Regions from separate parts of the Homo sapiens genome. Here all the other regions are linked to region 3. The links are contacts of gene promoters, found by promoter capture Hi-C in human tissues and cell types (Jung and others, 2019). All regions are on one chromosome and are shown on one strand. Each heading gives the region's core, a stretch centred on a gene start or on the middle of the fragment in contact. The rest is flanking DNA. Distances are from core to core; before and after follow the strand shown.

Region 1 (3,377 bases), core at 226-2,725, 510 kb before region 3:
GTGAGTCACCACTTCAGGGCTTTACTCCGTAACAGATTTTGTTGGCATAGCTCTGGGGTGGGCAGTTTTTTGAAAATGGGCTCAACCAGAAAAGCCCAAGTTCATGCAGCTGTGGCAGAGTTACAGTTCTGTGGTTTCATGTTAGTTACCTTATAGTTACTGTGTAATTAGTGCCACTTAATGTATGTTACCAAAAATAAATATATCTACCCCAGACTAGATGTAGTATTTTTTGTATAATTGGATTTCCTAATACTGTCATCCTCAAAGAAAGTGTATTGGTTTTTTAAAAAAGAAAGTGTATTTGGAAATAAAGTCAGATGGAAAATTCATTTTTTAAATTCCCGTTTTGTCACTTTTTCTGATAAAAGATGGCCATATTACCCCTTTTCGGCCCCATGTATCTCAGTACCCCATGGAGCTGGGCTAAGTAAATAGGAATTGGTTTCACGCCTGAGGCAATTAGACACTTTGGAAGATGGCATAACCTGTCTCACCTGGACTTAAGCATCTGGCTCTAATTCACAGTGCTCTTTTCTCCTCACTGTATCCAGGTTCCCTCCCAGAGGAGCCACCAGTTCTCATGGGTGGCACTCAGTCTCTCTTCTCTCCAGCTGACTAAACTTTTTTTCTGTACCAGTTAATTTTTCCAACTACTAATAGAATAAAGGCAGTTTTCTAAACTTCCTGTATCCTGTTGTTTGTGTTGCTCTCTCCAGGGCTGGGGGTAGGAGGATGCAAGGACTTCCTGGCCTAGCTCACCCTGGAGAGGTTTGTTGAGTGCAAAGGACTAGCTTGTGCCCCACCTCCCACCCACCCAGCAGCTAATCTGGTCCCTCCCAACAACATGGAAATGATTACCCTGTACCGCATTCTGGTTCAGATTTGGGGGTAGGGTGAATGCAGCCTGAGGAGGCCAGGGAGGGAGGACTCCGGCAGCGTTTCCTTGGCCTCGGCGAGCTACTGGGCTCCACTTAAGGAGGCTGGGGCAGAGCTTCCAGGACTCTGCCCGGTTAGAAAACCCGCACGAGGGCGGTGCCGCTTTGGAGACAGGGAGGAGGGAGACCGGAAGCCTAGATCCCTCTGGCTGTCCCCTGCACTGCCGGTAACATGGCACAGGAGAGGAGGGCTGTTTGTGCACGGGCAGCTCCTGCAGCTGCTGCCGTCGCCCACCAGCCTCCTATGCCAAACCCCACATCCTAACTCAGGAACCTCTGAGAAAAAACGGAGCCCTCGAGGGCCCCAGCCCTTGGAAGGGTAACCTGGACCGCTGCCGCCTGGTTGCCTGGGCCAGACCAGACATGCCTGCTGCTCCTTCCGGCTTAGGAGGAGCACGCGTCCCGCTCGGGCGCACTCTCCAGCCTTTTCCTGGCTGAGGAGGGGCCGAGCCCTCCGGGTAGGGCGGGGGCCGGATGAGGCGGGACCCTCAGGCCCGGAAAACTGCCTGTGCCACGTGACCCGCCGCCGGCCAGTTAAAAGGAGGCGCCTGCTGGCCTCCCCTTACAGTGCTTGTTCGGGGCGCTCCGCTGGCTTCTTGGACAATTGCGCCATGTGTGCTGCTCGGCTAGCGGCGGCGGCGGCGGCGGCCCAGTCGGTGTATGCCTTCTCGGCGCGCCCGCTGGCCGGCGGGGAGCCTGTGAGCCTGGGCTCCCTGCGGGGCAAGGTACTACTTATCGAGAATGTGGCGTCCCTCTGAGGCACCACGGTCCGGGACTACACCCAGATGAACGAGCTGCAGCGGCGCCTCGGACCCCGGGGCCTGGTGGTGCTCGGCTTCCCGTGCAACCAGTTTGGGCATCAGGTGCGCCGGGCGGAGCGGGGCGGGGCGGGGGCGGACGTGCAGTAGTGGCTGGGGGCGCCGGCGGTGTGCTGGTGGGTGCCGTCGGCTCCATGCGCGGAGAGTCTGGCTACTCTCTCGTTTCCTTTCTGTTGCTCGTAGCTGCTGAAATTCCTCTCCGCCCTTGGGATTGCGCATGGAGGGCAAAATCCCGGTGACTCATAGAAAATCTCCCTTGTTTGTGGTTAGAACGTTTCTCTCCTCCTCTTGACCCCGGGTTCTAGCTGCCCTTCTCTCCTGTAGGAGAACGCCAAGAACGAAGAGATTCTGAATTCCCTCAAGTACGTCCGGCCTGGTGGTGGGTTCGAGCCCAACTTCATGCTCTTCGAGAAGTGCGAGGTGAACGGTGCGGGGGCGCACCCTCTCTTCGCCTTCCTGCGGGAGGCCCTGCCAGCTCCCAGCGACGACGCCACCGCGCTTATGACCGACCCCAAGCTCATCACCTGGTCTCCGGTGTGTCGCAACGATGTTGCCTGGAACTTTGAGAAGTTCCTGGTGGGCCCTGACGGTGTGCCCCTACGCAGGTACAGCCGCCGCTTCCAGACCATTGACATCGAGCCTGACATCGAAGCCCTGCTGTCTCAAGGGCCCAGCTGTGCCTAGGGCGCCCCTCCTACCCCGGCTGCTTGGCAGTTGCAGTGCTGCTGTCTCGGGGGGGTTTTCATCTATGAGGGTGTTTCCTCTAAACCTACGAGGGAGGAACACCTGATCTTACAGAAAATACCACCTCGAGATGGGTGCTGGTCCTGTTGATCCCAGTCTCTGCCAGACCAAGGCGAGTTTCCCCACTAATAAAGTGCCGGGTGTCAGCAGAACTGTGTGTATGTCCTGTGTCATTGTCATTTGGGAATTCTTTTTCTTTTCTTTTTTTTTTTTTTTTTTTGAGACGGAGTTTTTTGCTCTATTGCCCAGGCTGGAGTGCAGTGGCGCAATCTAGGCTCACTGCAAGCTCCGCCTCCCGGGTTCACGCCATTCTCCTGCCTCAACCTCCTGAGTAGCTGGGACTACAGGTGCCTGCCACCACGCCCGGCTAATTTTTTGTATTTTTAGTAGAGACAGGGTTTCACCGTGTTAGCCAGGATGGTATCGATCTCCTGACCTCGTGATCCACCCGCCTCGGCCTCCCAAAGTGCTGGGATTACAGGTATGAGCCACCGCACCCGGCCTGGCGATACTTTTTCTAACCTCATTGTCATAGTGGTGGGAACTTAATCCTCCTTCCCTTATCCTAGCCAAGTCTGAACTTTCTGTCCTTTTGTCTGCAGCGTGTAGGATCCACTCTTTCCTTTGTGGGAAGTCTGGCTCCTGGCCTGCATTTCTGCCTTCACCAGAACATGCAAAGGGCCATCTCAAGACCCAGTTACAACAAAGTCCTTACTTCAAAAAAGACACAAGGCAATGGTTGACTGCCTAACTCAAATGATAGACTTCTGACTACTTGCTGCACGCTGAAATGACTGTCACAAAATAACATGAGCCCCCACTCACATTTGGAGTCATGGCCTCTCCAATTGTTAGGTCCACACAATCCCATTTTACA
Region 2 (2,913 bases), core at 140-2,639, 390 kb after region 3:
GGGAGACGACTGCTCCGCTGTGGCACACCAGGTGCTGAAGAATGCTAAGTGCAGTCACAGAGAAGCCTTCCAGGATGCACACTGAGTCCTCAGGGTTGGTCTCTACCCCAGAGCTCACGCAGGAGGAATGTGTCGGTGAGTCCCCAGGTGCTCCGCTTCTCTTAGCAGCTGCCAAGTCCTGCAGGGCCTGGCAGTGTAAGCCGATGAAGAACTGTACAAGGGGGAGGAAATGCACGGCTCCAGGAAGCTGGCAGAGTGGGAAGGCCCTTCTGCCTCCCTCTGCTGGGTCTCCATCACGTGAGCACTCATTCCGGGCAACCAGATTCAGTCCAGTGAATGCCAGGTTCTGTGCTTCTCTCAGGGCTGAGAGGGAAAATGACCCATCATAAGAACCTGTGGTCCTGAGGCCTGACATTCCAGCCAAGGTACTGGCAACAAACACAAAGAAAAATAGATTAAGTGTGGGATGGAGATAAGGTCAAGAGCCCCAAACAGCCTGCCTGCCAAATTCTCCAGGCTGCCTGCCCTTCCCACAGACTTCTCAGGCTGGCCAGGGCCAGAAAGGAATTTGCTTCCAGGAAGCTCCTTCCCAAACAAGCTTTCCAGGAGTCTTATGCTTACCTGCCAAACCCTGGTGGCTGCAGGGGGGTGCCAGCAGGAGACTCAGAACTACTACTCAGGAGGTGGCAAAGGCTTAGGGATGACCCTGGGATCAAAGGCTGCTTCAGGAGCAGGTTTATCAAAATGGAACCTGCAGAAGACAAGATGACTCTAGAAGGTTCTGACATGGGAGATCTTTTCGGTGGCTTTCAGAAGGAAACAGTAAGGATTCTTTGGATGCCAACTGTCCTCTAGGCTGCCACTAAGCCCCAGGAAGATGCCTGTGGGTGCGGAAGGCTCTGGGACATACCTGCCCTTGGCCCTTTCCACTTTATAAAGTCTTCTGCTTAAGCCACATACTTTGACTTCCCTGGACTCTCTGAAGGACTGCCCGGGGCACCGGTTCTCAGAGGCCTGGGCAATTCTTCTGCATATTACTCAGAGCCATGCAGGCCCCTGCAGGAGAAGCAGGGATTCTGGTACCTTGAGTGTTTGATCTCTGTCTCCAGCTGTCAACAAAGCTTTTCTGGGCCTCTTCTTGTTTTATGGAGTCACCTCTCAGACTGTGGGGCTTACTATCTGAAATGTGATAAAATGTAAATCAAAACTTGAGCCCAGAAGCATGGGCATATTAGAAACTTTTACATGCAATGAGTTTAAAACACACGCTGTTCTACTTCTTCGAACTTGGAACAAACAAGAGCCAAAGCGGCTCAAGAGCCCTGCATCTTTTACCTTCCTTATGTAAAACAGGAACTCATACAAGGAAAGGAAAAGAAAATCAAGCTGTTTGCCTCACTCAAAATGAGGCAATTAGATAAAACAGTGACCACTAACATTGACATGGTGCTTGTTACGTGCTAGACAGTGTTTTAAGAGCTCTATACGCATCAGCCCATTTGTTCCTCAGTGACCCTACAAGGATTTATCATTAGGTCTGTTTTACATATAGGGAAACTGAGGCACAGAGACTAAAGGACTTGCCCAAATCATATAAGCCAGTTAACAGCATTACTGGGACTCACATCCAGGCTACTGGGCTCTACTGCCTGCTTGTAACACTACTGTACACTGCCCCTTTAGCTGCTAGATGCCAAAAATGTAAGTGGGCTACAGTTTCTCAGAAGTGTTATGATGGCCAAGGATTTGAAAGGTTGATGGTAAGAAGAGGGTCAATGTATCCGATTTATAAGATACACTGACATAGCAGTCTGAAAACCTACTGATGTTAGATTGTCTCTCTCTAAAAAACAGCAGATCCCCTCAATCTGGACTGAGTTATAAAAACTCAAAAGCTGGACTACAAAAGGAAAACAGAGGCTGGGCACGGTGGCTCATGCCTGTAATCCCAGCATTTTGGGAGGCTGAAGTGGGTGGATCACGAGGTCATGAGATTGAGACCATCCAGGCCAACATGGTGAAACCTGTCTCTACTAAAAATACAAAAATTAGCTGGGTGTGGTGGCGCATGCCTGTAGTCCCAGCTACTCGGGAGGCTGAGGCAGGAGAATCGCTTGAACATGGGAGGCAGAGGTTACAGTGAGCCGAGATCACGCCACTGCACTCCAGCCTGGTGACAGAGTGAGACTCCGCCTCAAAGAAAAAAAAAAAAAACAAGAAAAGAAAAACAGATTCCTGCATACTAGCTAGGTTTTTGGCATGGTCAATTGATGCTGTGATGGTTTAAAAATATGCCCACAAGCATGATGGCAGGTGCCTGTAATCCCAGCTATTCGGGAGTCTGAGGCAGGAGAATCACTTGAACCCGGGAGGCGGAAGTTGCAGTGAGCTGAGATCGTGCCATTGCACTCCAGCCTGGGTGACAGGGTGAGACTCCGCCTCAAAAAAAAAAAAAAAAAGGCCCACAAATGCTTTGACACAACTCCCCTTCAAAAGGTATAAGCTTGGGAGGAGGGGGGAGGGATAGCATTAGGAGATATACCTAATGCTAAATGACGAGTTAATGGGTGCAACACACCAACATGGCACATGTATACATACGTAACACACCTGCACGTTGTGCACATGTACCCTAAAATTTAAAGTATAATAATAAAATAAAAATAAAAAATAAAAATTAAAAAAAAGGTATAAGCTTGGTTTCTCCCCTTGAATGACGCCCAGACTCAGTGATTTGCTTCTAACAAATACAATGTGGCAGAGGGGATGCTGTGTGACTTCTGAGGCTAGGCCATAAATGGATAGCTTCTGCCTGGCTCGCTCTCTCTGGATTTGCTAGCTTTAGAGGAAGCCACCCACCAGGTTAAGAGGATACCCCATATCCATGTGCAGAGGCCCATGTGGCAAGAAATT
Region 3 (3,189 bases), core at 358-2,857:
CACGCCTGTAGTACCAGCTACTTGGGAGGCTGAGACAGGAGAATCGCTTGAACCTGGGAGGCAGAGCTTGCAGTGAGCAGAGGTCATGCCATTGCACTCCAGCCTGGGCGACAGAGTGAGACTCCTCTCAAAAAAAAATAGGGGCCTGGCAGAACGGTCGCCCTCATTCCTTCCAGATGCCTTTTGAATGCTCTGCTGGATGGGTGGTTGGCTGAGCCGTGGGGCATCTGAGAACAAGTCAGTAGACCTTCTCCAAGAGTATGCAATAAGGACTGAGCAGGAAAAAAGTTGGAGACTGCCTGTCCCCTCACAAAGTTGATGGTCTAACATTCTTCTCAGGGTCAAGAAACTTGTCCAGGGAGACACTGCTGTTTATAATCACAGGCCTGCTTAGCCTAGAACCTGGGCTGGCCTCTTCATCAGTGGGGATGAGGGCTCCTTGCTCCCAGCTGCTCAGCTCCCAGCAGCATTGAGCTCCTGGGTGTGTGCCAAGCCTGTATGGGAGGTGATAGGGAGGATTTTAATTAATACTGAGTAATTACCAGGCGGTGTTTAAGCATCCCAAATGCCCTCAGGTTCCCAAACCTACAGCTACTCTCTTCCTGGCTAGGCCTGTAAGGAGAGGGGGACTCTGCTCTATGCCCAGTGGGCCTTTGGTTAGCACGTAGGCTGTAGACTGGACATCCCAGGAAGGTCTCCACCTTTTTCAATACCCTTCCAGTTTGGTAGGAGGAGGAGGGCAATTTGGGAAATAGTCTGGCCTCTACAGTTCACCTATACCATCTTCCCAGGGGCAAAGGATAACAATGCCTGTGGTCTGCTCAACTTCATCAAGCAGTGTTGACCTAGGGCCCAGTGTAGAATGTGGGGAGAGGAATGGGCAGACCTAGATCTGGGGACCCTGGTGAAAGTGCTCCAGGAGGAACAGGCACAGAGGTCTTTGCTGCTTTTGGCCTTATTTCCCTTTCTCACTGTACACATTTGGCTGAGTGAACTCTTTCAAATTTATTTTTCTGTCTGTGGCTCTCAAATTATGATCTCATTCAAACGCCTACTTCCTACAAGGCCTTACCCGTTTGACATCTCAGAGACCTGACAGACTCCTGAGTTATTCCACCATTCCACCTGGCAGCCAAGGTGGTCTTGACTCCACCAGGCCTTTGCTCTTGTTGTATGTTCAGATGGCTTTCCTCCAGATCTTCCCCTGGGCGGGTCCTGCTCAGGCCTCGGGGCTAGCTTGAATGTCACGCCGGAAAGTGAGCCCTCTCTTGCCCTTCATCACAGCAGAATCACACTGATGTGCTCGTATGCTTCTGCTTCTCGCTGTGTCTCTGGTGCTTAGTAAGTGCTGGCCAAAAAGAGGCTCTTGGCATCAGCTGAAAGAATAATTTAAAGGTCTTCAGGACCAGGCGAGAGGCACTAATCGGTCCCCTTCATGGGTAGACCGTTCATTACCTAATTCCCTGGATTCCCTCCGTGAGCTGGCATCAGGAACACTCCACTGTCTCGACCCCCCGACAGCCCGAGGGGGCGGGTCATCTAGTGGCGCAAGCGCACTGAGGGCCGGTGCTAAGCGGGGACGCGCACGCCCGCGGTGGCGTGCGTCACAACCAGGACGCCTGCCCCGCCCGTCCAGCTCGCCTGCCCGTCGGTCCCCGCGGCGGCGGCGGCTGCCCAGTGACAGCGGCGGCGGTGCCAGGTCGGCCGTGGTAGCGTAGGGTTGCGCGGCCCGGAAACGCAGAGCCGGCCAAAGAGCGGCGCGACGTGAGCCGGGGCCGTGCGCGAAGAGACCTCGCGGGCGCGGAGCGAAAGGCCGGCGTGAGTGAGCGCGGAGACAGTGGCCGCCGGCGGCCCAACCCGTCTATCCCTTCGGCCGCCGCCGGCATGAGCCACATCCAGATCCCGCCGGGGCTCACGGAGCTGCTGCAGGGCTACACGGTGGAGGTGCTGCGACAGCAGCCGCCTGACCTCGTCGAATTCGCAGTGGAGTACTTCACCCGCCTGCGCGAGGCCCGCGCCCCAGCCTCAGTCCTGCCCGCCGCCACCCCACGCCAGAGCCTGGGCCACCCCCCGCCAGAACCCGGCCCGGACCGTGTCGCCGACGCCAAAGGGGACAGCGAGTCGGAGGAGGACGAGGACTTGGAAGGTAGGCTGTGGGCGGGGCCCTGGGGAGTGGTGCAGGAGGTCTCCAGAGGTCTAGAGGGGTGGCAGGGAGCCAGGTGTCGCGCCGCAGCCAAGCCGACCGCAGGCTGGGATTGGGAGCTCTGTAGCCGCGTTTCTAGCGTTTCCCTGAGACACCGGCGTGAGCCCGCGTGCGCCACTTCCAAATTGAGCTCCGCGATCCTGCGAGCCCTAGAGCGCACCGAGTGATTTGTCAGATCCAGCCTTGAAGGAAACGTGCGCGCTGTCGGCCCTGCTAGAGGATCCCTCGCCTTTGCTTAAGACCCTTCACCAGTTTTGGCTTCGAAGACAACAGCGTTCTCATCCAGTGACTTGTGTTTAATTGATAGGACAGTAAGTTTGTTTGGAAATAATAATTTTTTTTGAAAAGTTACTGTGAAAACTTTTAAGCATAGACAAAAGAGGAAAGGTGAGATGAATCCCTATATGCCATCACCTACATTTAACAGTTGCGTTTGTCACAAAGTTTCATCCATACCTTTTTTCTTTCTTTGCCGAAGTGTATTAAAGCAAATCTCTCAGGTCATTTCACCTCTGCTTACTTGAGTTTGTATTTCTTCAAACATGGTCCCTGGGAATATTCCTATTTTTAAAAACTTGGCCAAAACGATTGAATCAAATTTGGTGAGAGTAAATAATTATCTTGCCGGCCGGGGCAGTGGGCCCCTATAGTCTATACCAGCTACTCTGGAGGCTGAGGAGGAAATATCGCTTGAATCCAAGAGTTCGAGACCAGCCTGGGCAAAATAGACACCCTACCTCATTTTTGAAAACGAAAAACCTGGCCGGGCGTGGTGGGTCACGCCTGTAGTCCCAGCACTTTGGGAGGCCGAGGCGGGTGGATCACCTGAGGTCAGGAGTTCGAGACCAGCCTGGCCAACATGGCGAAACCCCGTCTCTACTAAAAATACAAAAATTAGCCGGGCGTGGTGGCGGGCGTCTGTAGTCCCAGCTACTTGGGAGGCTGAGGCAGGGAGAATCGCTTGAACCTGGGAGGCGGAGGTTGCA

What was found. Contacts are between HindIII fragments. The study calls those that stand out against the background at their distance.
Region 1: a contact is called between the fragment with the promoter of GPX1 here and the fragment with the promoter of PRKAR2A in region 3, in 1 of the 25 tissues and cell types used here (bladder).
Region 2: a contact is called between a fragment that was not itself captured here and the fragment with the promoter of PRKAR2A in region 3, in 3 of the 25 tissues and cell types used here (aorta, bladder and dorsolateral prefrontal cortex).

Annotation. Positions count from the first base shown.
Region 1 is chr3:49,356,451-49,359,827 of GRCh38, reverse strand. GPX1 (glutathione peroxidase 1) reads left to right here and starts at 1,475. Exons shown (of 2, transcript NM_000581.4): 1 at 1,475-1,801; 2 at 2,081-2,652. The coding sequence starts at 1,550. The coding sequence ends at 2,440. RHOA (ras homolog family member A) reads left to right here. Exons shown (of 5, transcript NM_001664.4): 5 at 1-683. RefSeq lists enhancers at 582-1,190, 953-1,282, 1,191-1,799 and a silencer at 1,443-1,502. The HindIII fragment of the contact is 32,276 bases long and covers 1-3,377 here.
Region 2 is chr3:48,457,625-48,460,537 of GRCh38, reverse strand. It overlaps ATRIP (ATR interacting protein), which reads right to left. Exons shown (of 13, transcript NM_130384.3): 6 at 1,084-1,179; 7 at 622-751; 8 at 1-428. It overlaps ATRIP-TREX1 (ATRIP-TREX1 readthrough), which reads right to left. Exons shown (of 15, transcript NR_153405.1): 6 at 1,084-1,179; 7 at 622-751; 8 at 1-428. Among named protein-coding and RNA genes, the nearest start is that of TREX1, 7.1 kb to the left of the region's middle. The HindIII fragment of the contact is 6,156 bases long and covers 1-2,913 here.
Region 3 is chr3:48,846,292-48,849,480 of GRCh38, reverse strand. It overlaps PRKAR2A (protein kinase cAMP-dependent type II regulatory subunit alpha), which reads left to right and starts at 1,607. Exons shown (of 11, transcript NM_004157.4): 1 at 1,607-2,146. The coding sequence starts at 1,885. PRKAR2A-AS1 (PRKAR2A antisense RNA 1) reads right to left here and starts at 1,544. Exons shown (of 3, transcript NR_109997.1): 1 at 1,456-1,544; 2 at 1,073-1,376; 3 at 1-494. RefSeq lists a silencer at 1,465-1,794. The HindIII fragment of the contact is 13,078 bases long and covers 1-3,189 here.